2 separate regions of the Homo sapiens genome follow, and region 1 is linked to region 2. The links are contacts of gene promoters, found by promoter capture Hi-C in blood cells and fetal thymus (Javierre and others, 2016). All regions are on one chromosome and are shown on one strand. Each heading gives the region's core, a stretch centred on a gene start or on the middle of the fragment in contact. The rest is flanking DNA. Distances are from core to core; before and after follow the strand shown. Region 1 holds the start of PSMC6 (proteasome 26S subunit, ATPase 6). Region 2 overlaps LRR1 (leucine rich repeat protein 1).

Region 1 (5,901 bases), core at 3,078-5,577, 3.1 Mb after region 2:
GGGTTCACGCCATTCTCCTGCCTCAGCCTCCAGAGTAGCTGGGACTACAGGCGCCCGCTATCACACCCGGCTAATTTTTTTGTATTTTTTAGTAGAGACGGGGTTTCACCACGTTAGCCAGGATGGTCTTGATCTCCTGACCTTGTGATCCACCCGCCTCAGCCTCCCAAAGTGCTAGGATTATAGGTGTGAGCCACTGCGCCTGGCCTAATTTAAGTGCATTTTCATAGGTATTTGGAAGTAGACATTTGGGATGAAAAATTTCTAAAAACTTAAGTGTTGTGGCCAATGTGGGAGCAAAAGTAGTTGCTACTTGCCTATTTGACACTGTTTCCCAATTTTTCTCTTAAAAATAAATCTGTTCTTGTTGTATTTGTTATCGATCACTGTGTAACAAATTACCCCAAAACTAAGTGGCTTCAAACAACAAACATTTATCATCTCATGGTTTTTAGGGACCAGCAATTCAGGAGCAGCTGAACTGAGTTGTGTGACTCAGTCTCTCATGGTGTTGCAATCAATACTAGGGCTGCAGTAATAAAGGCTTGCCTAGAGCCGGAGGATCTCTGCCAGGAACTGCTCACTCATATGGCTGTTGGCAGGAGGCCTTAAGTTCCTGGATGGCTGTTCCTTGCTATGTAGGTCTCTCCATAGATCTGTTGATGTGTCCTCATGCCATGACAACTGGCTCTCCCACAGGGAGTTATCCAAGCGAGAGTCAAAAGGAAGGCTCAACACTTTTTGTGATCTAGTCTCCATCGTTGCGCACTGTCACTTCCACTTTATTTATCAAGAGCAAGTCACTAGGTCCAAGGAAGGGGAATTATGCTCCACCTCTTGAAGTGGAAAGTGTCAAATAATTTGTGTACATATTTTAAAATGACCACACTCATCTGTGCCAAGTTATAGGAAAATAGATTGAGAAACTATCCTTACATGATTTTTGAAGGTCTACATCAATCTCATTACCGTTTGTTATGACATCACTTTTAATGACTCCGAAATAAACTAAGATATGCCCTACCTTCTTTTATCTCTTCCACCCTATATGTTCTAATTTTCATTTTTTGGTCACATTTGTATTTTTCTGTTTTCACTTTATGATATTTTAAGTTCCTTGAGTACTGGTCACATTTCTTAGCCTCTTTATAACTCTGCTTACCTATCTTAGTGCCTGAGATATTCATTCATTCAATATACATATATCTCTTTTATTTCAGACACTGTGCTAGACACTGGGGATCCAATCAGGGGAAATAAATAGTCATAGTCCTTGTTTTCCGAGGGGTTACAGTCCACTGCAGAGAAAAGACTCTAAACATTTAATCACGTTTAAGAATATATAATTACAAGTTGAGCTACGTTTTCAGATGGAGAGGAATACAGTCTTATAGGCATGTATAAAAACGTAACGGCCAGGCGCGGTGGCTCACACCTGTAATCCCAGCACTTTGGGAGGCTAAGGCGGGTGGATCACCTGAGCTCAGGAATTTAAGACCAGCCTGACCAACATGGTGAAACCCCATCTCTACCAAAAATACAAAAATTAGTCGGGTGTGGTGGCGCATACCTGTAGTCCCAGCTACTCTGGAAGCTGAAGCAGGAGAATCCCTTGATCCCGGGAGGCGGAGGTTGCAGCAAGCCGAGATCGCACCACTGCACTCCAGCCTGGGCGACAGAGCGAGACTCCTGCTCAAAACAAAAAACAAACAAACAAACAAAAAAGTAACAGGGCTAGTGTAGGCATGGGGAAAATAGAAGATTCTTCTGAAGTTGAAATGCTGCCAGATGGGTAAAAGAAAAAGAACAAGGGTTAAGGGACTTTAAAATATTGATGTGATTAATGTTAAAATAACCTATCAGTATGTGCTCATAAATATTTTAAATTGAGCCATACTGAGCTTTCTTTCTCTGCCTTGTCCTCTCTTCTTTACTTCTTGATGTCAGAGGTGACATGTTTTGGTATGGATGGACTAGTTTGACCAGAGTAGTTGCAACTGAGTGGGAGAAGGGACTATCCCTGCCCCATACAGCTTCCTTGTTCATTGTATACTGCAAGAACCCAGTCACATTTAGAAAAATTGGCCGAACGCGGTGGCTCATGCCTGTAATCCCAGCACTTTGGGAGGCCGAGGCGGGCGGATCACGAGGTCAGGAGATCGAGACCAGCCTGACCAACATGGTGAAACCCTGTCTCTACTAAAAATACAAAAATTAGCTGGGCGTGGTGGTGTGCGCCTGTAATCCCAGCTGTTCGGGAGGCTGAGGCAGGAGAATCACTTGAACCCGGGAGGTGGAGGTTGCAGTGAGCCGAGATCGCGCCACTGCACTCCAGCCTGGCGACAGAGCAAGACTCCAACTCAAAAAAAAAAAAAAAAAAAAAAAAAAAAAAGAAAAATAGAATGGAATATTCACACAATACCCATGAGAATTGTTCCTAATAAATTTGAAGGCATCCTTTATGTGACTTTGGGTCATTAATTTACAAAAATTTGTACTTTATTTGTATATTTAGGATGTATATATTTAAACTCAAACATTCATGGCCATTGGATAAGGTGAGACCAAATGGAATCTATTTGGAGAATTTTACTCATGTTTTTTGGACAACAATTAATTGTCCCCAGGAACAATGATAGCAAGAGGTATAGCAATGAGGACCTGTAATGCAAAAATTGGAGTCATTACTACCCTTAAAATAAATATCTATTCAAAAGAACACTATTGAGTACATGCCATGTGGCAGATGTTGTGTTTAGGCACATTATCCTATTTAATACTCATGACAACCCCATTAGATAAGTGCAATTATTATGATCATTTTACAGAGATATTGAGGGAGTATGTAATTTTCCCCAAATCACAAAAATCTGAAAGTTGGCCAGGCGTCGTGGCTCACGCCTGTAATCCCAACACTTTGGGAGGCTGAGGCGGGCGGATCACTTGAGGTCAGTAGTTGGAGACCAGCCTGGCCAACATGGTGAAACCCCATTCCTACTGAAAATACAAAAATGAGCCGGGCGTGGTGGCGGGCGCCTGTAATCCCAGCTTCTCAGGAGGGTGAGGCACGACAATCGCTTGAACCCGGGAGGCAGAGGTTGCAGTGAGCCAAGATCGCACCACTACACTGCAGCCTGGGTGACAGAGTGAGACACAGACTCAAAAAAAAAAAAAAAAAAAAAAAAATCTGGCCGGGCGCAGTGCCTCACACCTGTAATCCTAGCACTTTGGGAGGCTGAGGAGGGTGGATCACCTGAAGTCAGCAGTTCGAGACCAGCATGGCCAACATGGCGAAACCCCGTCTCTACTAAAAATACAAAAATTAGCCGGTTGTGGTGGCGCACACCTGTAATGCCAGCTACTCCGGAGGCTGAGGAAGGAGAATTGCTTGAACCCGGGAGGTGGAGGTTGCAGTGAGCTGAGATCGCGTCACCGCTCCAGCCTGTGCGGCAGGAGCAAGACTCCATCTCAAAAGTAAATAAATAAATACATAAATCTGAAGGTTCTATCAGACTTCAAAGTTCCTGCCTCAGCCTACTTCAGCATCTTTATCTTGTACCCCACATCTCTACAACCCACCCCCTACTGGTCTCATTGGCCTCCTTTCTGTTCCTGGAAGTGAGTCAAGCTTTCTACCCACAACCCCCACCCCACTCCACTCCAGGACTTGCACTGTTTGTTTAGGTTTTCTTCAGTTGTTGCAAGGCTGGCTCCTTCTCATCTCAGATATCTGTTCTAGATTAATTCTTCCCACCATACTTCTCACCGTGTTTTAATTCCTTCACAGTATTTGTTAAACTCTGAAGTTTTTTTTATTATTATTTCCTATCAAATGATAAGCAGATCTACCTTTAATACCTCATTCACTGACTGAATGGATGAATAAAACTGTCTACTTCTCCAGCACGTGGAGGTCTTGGACAGTACTGTGTTATAACAAAGGCCATCTGTGTTGTGTCGACAGGCCATCGGAACTCCTTTGAGGTATTACACATTTCCTACTTCACTTCCATCTCAGTTTATTACAGAGCCTTTTATACTTCCGGGACAGCAGTGACTTAATACTGAGGCCTCTCAGGGGAAGACCGGGATAACTGAGTCCTGCTTTACCTATCTCGGCTTGCAAGAAACGGTATAGGTGGAGGCCTCTTTCAGTGTATGCCGGCGCTCTAGGTGAACCGAGACATAGAGGTGGAAGTGGAGTAGAAAGACGGGGCCAACCGGAAGGGGAGGGCTCATGGGCGAACCCACCCCTCCAGGCAGGGTTTCGCCCCTCGCCCCGCCCCTTCCCCCGCCCGGACGGCCATGGCCATTCCCGGCATCCCCTATGAGAGACGGCTTCTCATCATGGCGGACCCTAGAGATAAGGCGCTTCAGGACTACCGCAAGAAGTTGCTTGAACACAAGGAGATCGACGGCCGTCTTAAGGAGTGTGAGTGCACCTTTCTTTCCATTTAATCAAGTGCCTCGACTCGCTTCTGCCTCTGACAAAGCAGAAGCCTTTCGCCGAGCCCGGCAACCGAGCCTTAGAGATGACCAGGCCTAGGGCCAGGGACAAGGCGCTTTGTCATCCGGCCCTGAGCTTGTGGAGCAGCACTCCTTCGGGTGTAGAAATGGCCCAGTCCAGCCCGGGTGACAGAACATCGGCGGCCTTGAGGTGAAAATGAAAAAGAAGTAGAGGAGGAGTGGGGAAGTGGGCCGAGGATGTTTCCCAGGTTAGGGTGCAAGAAGGGCAGTCTTGGTGGAGTCCCGGGACTTGGAGAGGGGAAGGCGCTTGAGTCAAGTAAGCTCAAACAAGAGATGAGACTCAGGGAGTCGGCTTGTTCTTGGAGTCGAAAGACGGCCGCGGAGCTTAAGAGAGAAGTGTTCCAGTTGTCATAATAACCCATATCGTCTTGTGTTTCGTGTTGTACTGTATCAGGCATACAAATTTCCCTTACCTCCTGAGTGCTTAACTTTTTTTTCCAGTGCATTTTCATTGAAAAGCATGAGTAGTTTAATTAAATGGAGGACCATAATTACATGATTCTGTGGAGAACTGCATTTGTTGACTTTATTTAGGGTAGAATGTCAGAGAACAATCCACGTGGGTAGGTGAAGAGGTGAGGAAGGGTCTAAGTGATTATCATTCGGATTTGTAGTCGCAAATCCTAAGTGTCAGGGTGTCAATATCTTCTAAGACTATAACTTAAGATGTGCTTAAACAAGTATTGCCGATCAACAAAGTAAAAGTATGGTGCTTTCTCTGTAACATTTTGTTGTTATACATGCCACCTACTCATTACAAACAGCATTATTTCTTTTATGGTTTGAAACAGTGGATGTGAAACTTAGGTAAAGTGAAGTAGACTTACGTAAACAGTAAAGTGAGACGTAGCGACTTAAACACACTAAGATTACTGTTCAATTAAAAATGTTCAAATTGTATTATTTCAGTAAGGGAACAATTAAAAGAACTTACCAAGCAGTATGAAAAGTCTGAAAATGATCTGAAGGCCCTACAGAGTGTTGGGCAGGTAGGTGATGGAGTTTGGGGAATAGGGGGTGATGGTAATTTGCTTTTTTATTTAGCTGTTGCCAAAAAGTAATGCTTTTTATTTTCTTCCTTAGATCGTGGGTGAAGTGCTTAAACAGTTAACTGAAGAAAAATGTGAGTGATGAATTAGCTTATTAATTAGTAAAGAAACAGTCCACCTCTCTCTCACTTTTGAAATGCTTATTATTTTAATGACAATAATGCAGAGAGAGAGAGTATTTTTGAATAGACTTAAGTTTTCCTTCAACTAATGTCTCCTTGGAGGACAGAAATACAACTAAACCCTCTGTCAACGTGGGTATGTATTTTTTTACTTTCTATTTTTCAATTAGTTCTTTTATGTTTTTTCTTCTAGTCATTGTTAA
Region 2 (5,566 bases), core at 2,698-5,197:
GACGGGTTTCACCATGTTGGCCCGGCTGGTCTCAAACTCCTGACCTCGTGATCCGCCCACCTTGGCCGCCCAAAGTGCTGGGATTATAGGCATGAGCCACCGTGCCCGGACTGTAATCATTCTTATAAAAATATAAACTGAGGCTGGGTGCCATAGCTCACACCTGTAATCCCAGCACTTTGGAAGGCCAAGACTGGTGGATCACTTGCTCTCAGGAGTTCAAGACCAGCCTGGGCAACATGGTGAAACCCTGTCTCCACAAAAAAAAAAAAAAAAATTAGCCAGGCGTGGTTTTCACACCTGTGGTGCCAGCTACTTGGGAGCCTGAGGTGGGAGGATCACTTGAGCCTGGGAGGTGCAGGTTACAATGAGCCAAGATTGCACCACTGCACTCCAACCTGGGCGACAGAGCCAGACCCTGTCTCAAACAAAACAAAACAAAACAAAACAAAAATACCATAAACTGGCTGGGTGCAGTGGCTCACACCTGGGAGGCCGAGGCAGGAGGATCACTTAATCCCACAAGTTAGAACCTGGAGGCCAGACACGGTGGCTCACGCCTATGATCCCAGCACTTTGGGAGCCCTAGTTGGGCGGATTGCTTGAATCCAGGTGTTCAAGATCAGCCTGGGTGACATGGTGAAACCCCATCTCTACAAAAAAATTAGCCAGGCATAGTGGTGTGCACCTGTAATCTCAGCTACTTGGGAGGCTGAGGTGGAGGGTCACCTGAGCCTGGAAGGTCAAGGCTGCAGTGAACTGTGATTGCAGCCACTGCACTCCATCCTGGTTGATAGAGCAAGACCCTGTCTCAAAAAAAAGTTCAGGGCTTCGGTGAACTATGATTGTGCCACTGTACTCCAGCATGGGTGACAGAGCAAGACCCTTTCTCAAACAAAAAAAATTTATAAACCATTAGAATTTTAAAACTGGTGGTTTTTTTCTGCCTTCTGCCCTCTGCCCTATTCCTCTTTCCCTTCCTGATGGGTGGAAACAATGTCTCGTTGTTCAACCTTGCTTTTTTTTTCTTTTTGATGAGACAAGGTCTCACTCTCACCTAGGCTGGAGTGCAGTGGCACCATCACAGCTCACTGCACCCTCGACCTTCCAGGCTCAGGTGATCCTTCCTTCTCAGCCTCCCAAGTAACTGGGACTATAGGGGCACAACACCATACCAGGCTAATTTTTTTGTACTGGTAGAGACAGGGTTTCACCTTGTTGCACAGGCTGGTCTCAAACTCCTGGGCTCAAGCAATCTGTCCACGTTGGCCTCCCAAAGTGGTGAAATTACAGGCATGGTCCACCACATCTGGCCCAACTGTGCATTATTTTTAACTCCAAGCAAAGTGCTCTGCAACATTAAAAGTTCGATAACTAAGGAGTTTGGATTGAATGGAATAATTTTGTCCCATCTCCTCCTTGTGATTTTTCATTTTTTTTCTTGACTTGCAGCTTATTCTTTCACTAATTCTTCCTTTCTATCTAAAAACAAGCTGAGATCTTACTGATTTTAAAAAAAGAAAACAAATTTCTAGAAAGACAAGGCTGAATTCATTGTCTCCACTTTTTATCTTTTGACCTTTACTGGTTTACTGAAAACACTGTCTCAGAGATCACTGATCTTTTCACTTGTCTATCACAGTATCATTATTTCTCATTATTTTTGCACTCTGTAGAATTTGACAATGATAATTACCCTTTTCTTAATAAAACTCTTTCTTTTCTTGGTATCTATGATAGGGCACTATGGTTTACCTTCAGTTTTCTTAGTCACTTCTTTGTCTCTTGCTTCCAGCAACATTTTTTTCTATCCCCAAAATAAAGGCTTTATTTCAGTCCTCTGCTGTTTTCTGTCATACCTGCCTTCCATTTGATAGTTCAGCTGTTATATGGGTGAATCCCAAGTCTGTGAACCAGTATGCTTTATTGTACCTAGTTGACCCAGGTCTTCTCCAGACTTTTCCCTACTCTGGTTCATTGTGTACAGTGCTACCAAAATAGTATTTAGTTCTTGTCATGTAACTTTCATACTTAAAATCCCTCCACTTTACGTTGGCATCTGAGCTCATTTACAATCTGTCCTCATACTGTATTTCCAATCTTTTGCTCTACATAGCTTCCATGTTCCAACAAAAATTAGCTTTTTTTTTTTTCTTTTTTTTTTTTTTATATGGAGTCGCTCTGTCGCCCAGGCTGCCGTGCAGTCTTGCGATCTTGGCTTACTGCAACCTCTGCCTCCCAGTTTCAAGCAACTCTCCTGCCTCAGCCTACCAAGCAGCTGGGATTACAGGCGCCTGCCGCCATGCCCCACTAATTTTTATATTTTTAGTAGAGACGGGGTTTCACCATGTTGGCCAAGCTGGCCTTGAACTCCTAACCTCAGGTGATCCACCCACCTTGGCCTCCCAAAGTGCTAGGATTATAGGCGTGAGCCACCAGTCCCAGCCTTTTTTGTTTGTTTGTTTTGTTTTGTTTTGAGACCGAGTTTCACTTGTGTCGCCCAGGCTGGAGTGCAGTGGCGCGATCTCGGCTCACTGCAACCTCTGCCTCCCAGGTTCAAGCAATTCTCCTGCCTCAGCTTCCTGACTAGCTGGGATTACAGGCATGCGCCACATTGCCCAGCTAATTTTTGTATTATTAGTAGAGAAGGGGTTTCACCATGTTGGCCAGGCTGGTCTGAAACTCCTGACCTCAAGTAATCCGCCTGCCTTGGCCTCCCAATGTTATGGGATTATAGGCGTGAGTCACTACACCTGGCCTTAAACTCAAATTTTTTTTTTTTTTTTTTAATTTTTCAGATAGAGTCTTGCTCTGTTGCCCAGCCTGGAGTGCAGTGGCACAATCTCGGCTCACTGCAACCTCCGCCTCCCGGGTTCAAGCGATTCTCCTTGCTCAGCCTCCAAAGTAGCTGGGATTACAGGCATGCACTACCACGCCCAGCTAATTTTTGTATTTTTAGTAGAAACAGGGCTTCACCATGTTGGCCAGGCTGGTCTCAAACTCCTGACCTCAAGTGATCCACCTGCCTCGGCCTCCCAAAGTGCTGGGATTACAGGCGTGAGCCACTGCGCCCCACCTAAACTCAAATCTTAAGTGGAATAGTCAATCATTTCCTATCTTATTTTATACTCTTATGATTTCCCTTTATTTTTGTTATTTTTTTTTTTTTTTGAGACAGTCTCACTCTGTTGCCCAGGCTGGAGGGCAGTGATATCATGGCTTACTGCAGCCTCTACTTCCTAGGCTCAGGTGATCCTCCCACCTCAGCCTCCCAAAGTGTTGGCATGACTTCCCTTTGAACAGTTTTATTTAGAATGTGTCCCTCCACGTAATTTTTTTCAAAAACTTTTAAACTTGAAATTTAGTCAAAATAAAGTACTAAAAAAAAGTTTTACAGTCAATTTCAGTAAATCATTGTATCACATTCATAAGTAATGCCATAGAATTTGTTATGGGAAGAACTAGCATGTATGTATTATCTCCAGTGGAATTTATAATTCTACAACTTTTATTTATTCAGGCCATTTCCAGCAGTTTAAAAGGTTTCCTTTCAGCTATGAGACTGGCTCATAGAGGCTGTAATGTTGATACACCAGTTTCAACGCTCACACCAGTGAAGACTTCAGAATTTGAAAACTTTAAAACTAAAATGGTTATCACATCCAAAAAAGACTATCCTCTAAGTAAGAATTTTCCATATTCCTTGGAACATCTTCAGACTTCTTACTGTGGGCTTGTCCGAGTTGATATGCGTATGCTTTGCTTAAAAAGCCTTAGGAAATTAGACTTGAGTCACAACCATATAAAAAAGCTTCCAGCTACAATTGGAGACCTCATACACCTTCAAGAACTTAACCTGAATGACAATCACTTGGAGTCATTTAGTGTAGCCTTGTGTCATTCTACACTCCAGAAGTCACTTCGGAGTTTGGACCTCAGCAAGAACAAAATCAAGGCACTCCCTGTGCAGTTTTGCCAGCTCCAGGAACTTAAGAATTTAAAACTTGACGATAATGAATTGATTCAATTTCCTTGCAAGATAGGACAACTAATAAACCTTCGCTTTTTGTCAGCAGCTCGAAATAAGCTTCCATTTTTGCCTAGTGAATTTAGAAATTTATCCCTTGAATACTTGGATCTTTTTGGAAATACTTTTGAACAACCAAAAGTCCTTCCAGTAATAAAGCTGCAAGCACCATTAACTTTATTGGAATCTTCTGCACGAACCATATTACATAATAGGTAAGATTTTAATAGTCATGTAATGTGGTGTCTTTGATAGCATTCTAATATTCCTATCAAACTCAGAGTAATAAAGTCTAACATTGCTTACAGTGCTATGCACAGTCTGACCCTTTGCTATAATGGTCTTCTTGTTCCTTACCTCTGCTTAGAATGATTTTTCTCCAGGAAGTCTCATTGCTCACTCCCTCACTTCATTCAGTTTTCTGCCGAAGTGTCATCCCAGAAAGGTCTTACCTGTCCATTCTATCTAAATTTTATTCCTTCCCTCCTTACATTGCTTGATTTTTTTTTTTTTTTTTTTTTTTTTTTTTTTTTTTTTTTTTGGTCATAGGACTCATTGCCTGTTATATATATTTTTAAACTTTTTTTTTTGTTTACTGTCAGTTTTCCCCACTAGAATGTAAGATCCATCAGCACATGGATGTTGTTTTATTCTCCACTATTTCCCTAGGATCTAAACCATGTATACCCTGCTCCTAGCATATATTAAGCACTCAATAAGTAGTTAAATGAATGAATGGCATTGTTTCTCAAAGTGTGCTCCCCTGACCAGCAGGATCTGCATTACCTAGGAACTTCCTAGAGATGCAGGTTCTAACATTCCAGACCTACTGAATCAGAAACTGAGAGTGGGGTCCAGCTGTGTCTTAGTGAGTCTTCCAAGTGATTTTGATGTACTCTAAAATTAGAGAGTTCGCATAGTGATGAAGGGTGGTCTTTGGAGTCAGACTTGGATTTGATTCCTGGCTTCACCACTTTGTATGACTTTAACCTCTTTTTTTTTTTTTTTTTTTTTTTTTTTGAGATGGAGTCTCACTCTGTCGCCCAGGCTGGAGTGCAGTGGTGCGAAGCGATCTCGGCTCACTGCAAGCTCCGCCTTCCAGGTTCACGCCATTCTCGTGCCTCAGCCTACTGAGTAGCTGGGACTACAGGCGCCCGCCAACACGCCTGGCTAATTTTTTTTTTGTATTTTTAGTAGAGACGGGGTTTCACCGTGTTAGCCAGGATGGTCTCGATCTCCTGACCTCGTGATCCGCCCGTCTTGGCCTCCCAAAGTGCTGGAATTACAGGCTTGAGCCACCACACCTGGCCCTTTTTTTTTTTTTTTTTTTTTTTTTTGAGACAGGGTCTCACTCTGTTGCCCAGGCTCGAGTGCAGTGGTCCAATCTCAGCTCACTGCAACTTCTGCCTCCCAGACTCAAGCAACTCTTCTGCCTCAGCCTCCTGAGTAGCTGGGATTACAGGCGCCCACCGCCATGCCTGGCTCATTTTTGTATTTTCATTTTATTTATTTGTTTGAGACAGAGTCTCACTGTGTCAC

Evidence for each region. Contacts are between HindIII fragments. The CHiCAGO score rates a contact against its expected background, and 5 or more counts as called.
Region 1: the fragment with the promoter of PSMC6 here is called in contact with a fragment that was not itself captured in region 2 in 1 of 17 cell types (M0 macrophages); the score reaches 6.5 in M0 macrophages.

Annotation. Positions count from the first base shown.
Region 1 is chr14:52,702,873-52,708,773 of GRCh38, forward strand. PSMC6 (proteasome 26S subunit, ATPase 6) reads left to right here and starts at 4,328. Exons shown (of 14, transcript NM_002806.5): 1 at 4,328-4,432; 2 at 5,437-5,516; 3 at 5,611-5,650; 4 at 5,892-5,901. The coding sequence starts at 4,348. RefSeq lists enhancers at 3,879-3,988, 4,009-4,068, 4,369-4,618, 4,639-4,688. The HindIII fragment of the contact is 4,351 bases long and covers 3,627-5,901 here.
Region 2 is chr14:49,603,880-49,609,445 of GRCh38, forward strand. LRR1 (leucine rich repeat protein 1) reads left to right here. Exons shown (of 4, transcript NM_152329.4): 3 at 3,521-4,242. Among named protein-coding and RNA genes, the nearest start is that of LRR1, 7.7 kb to the left of the region's middle. The HindIII fragment of the contact is 276 bases long and covers 3,810-4,085 here.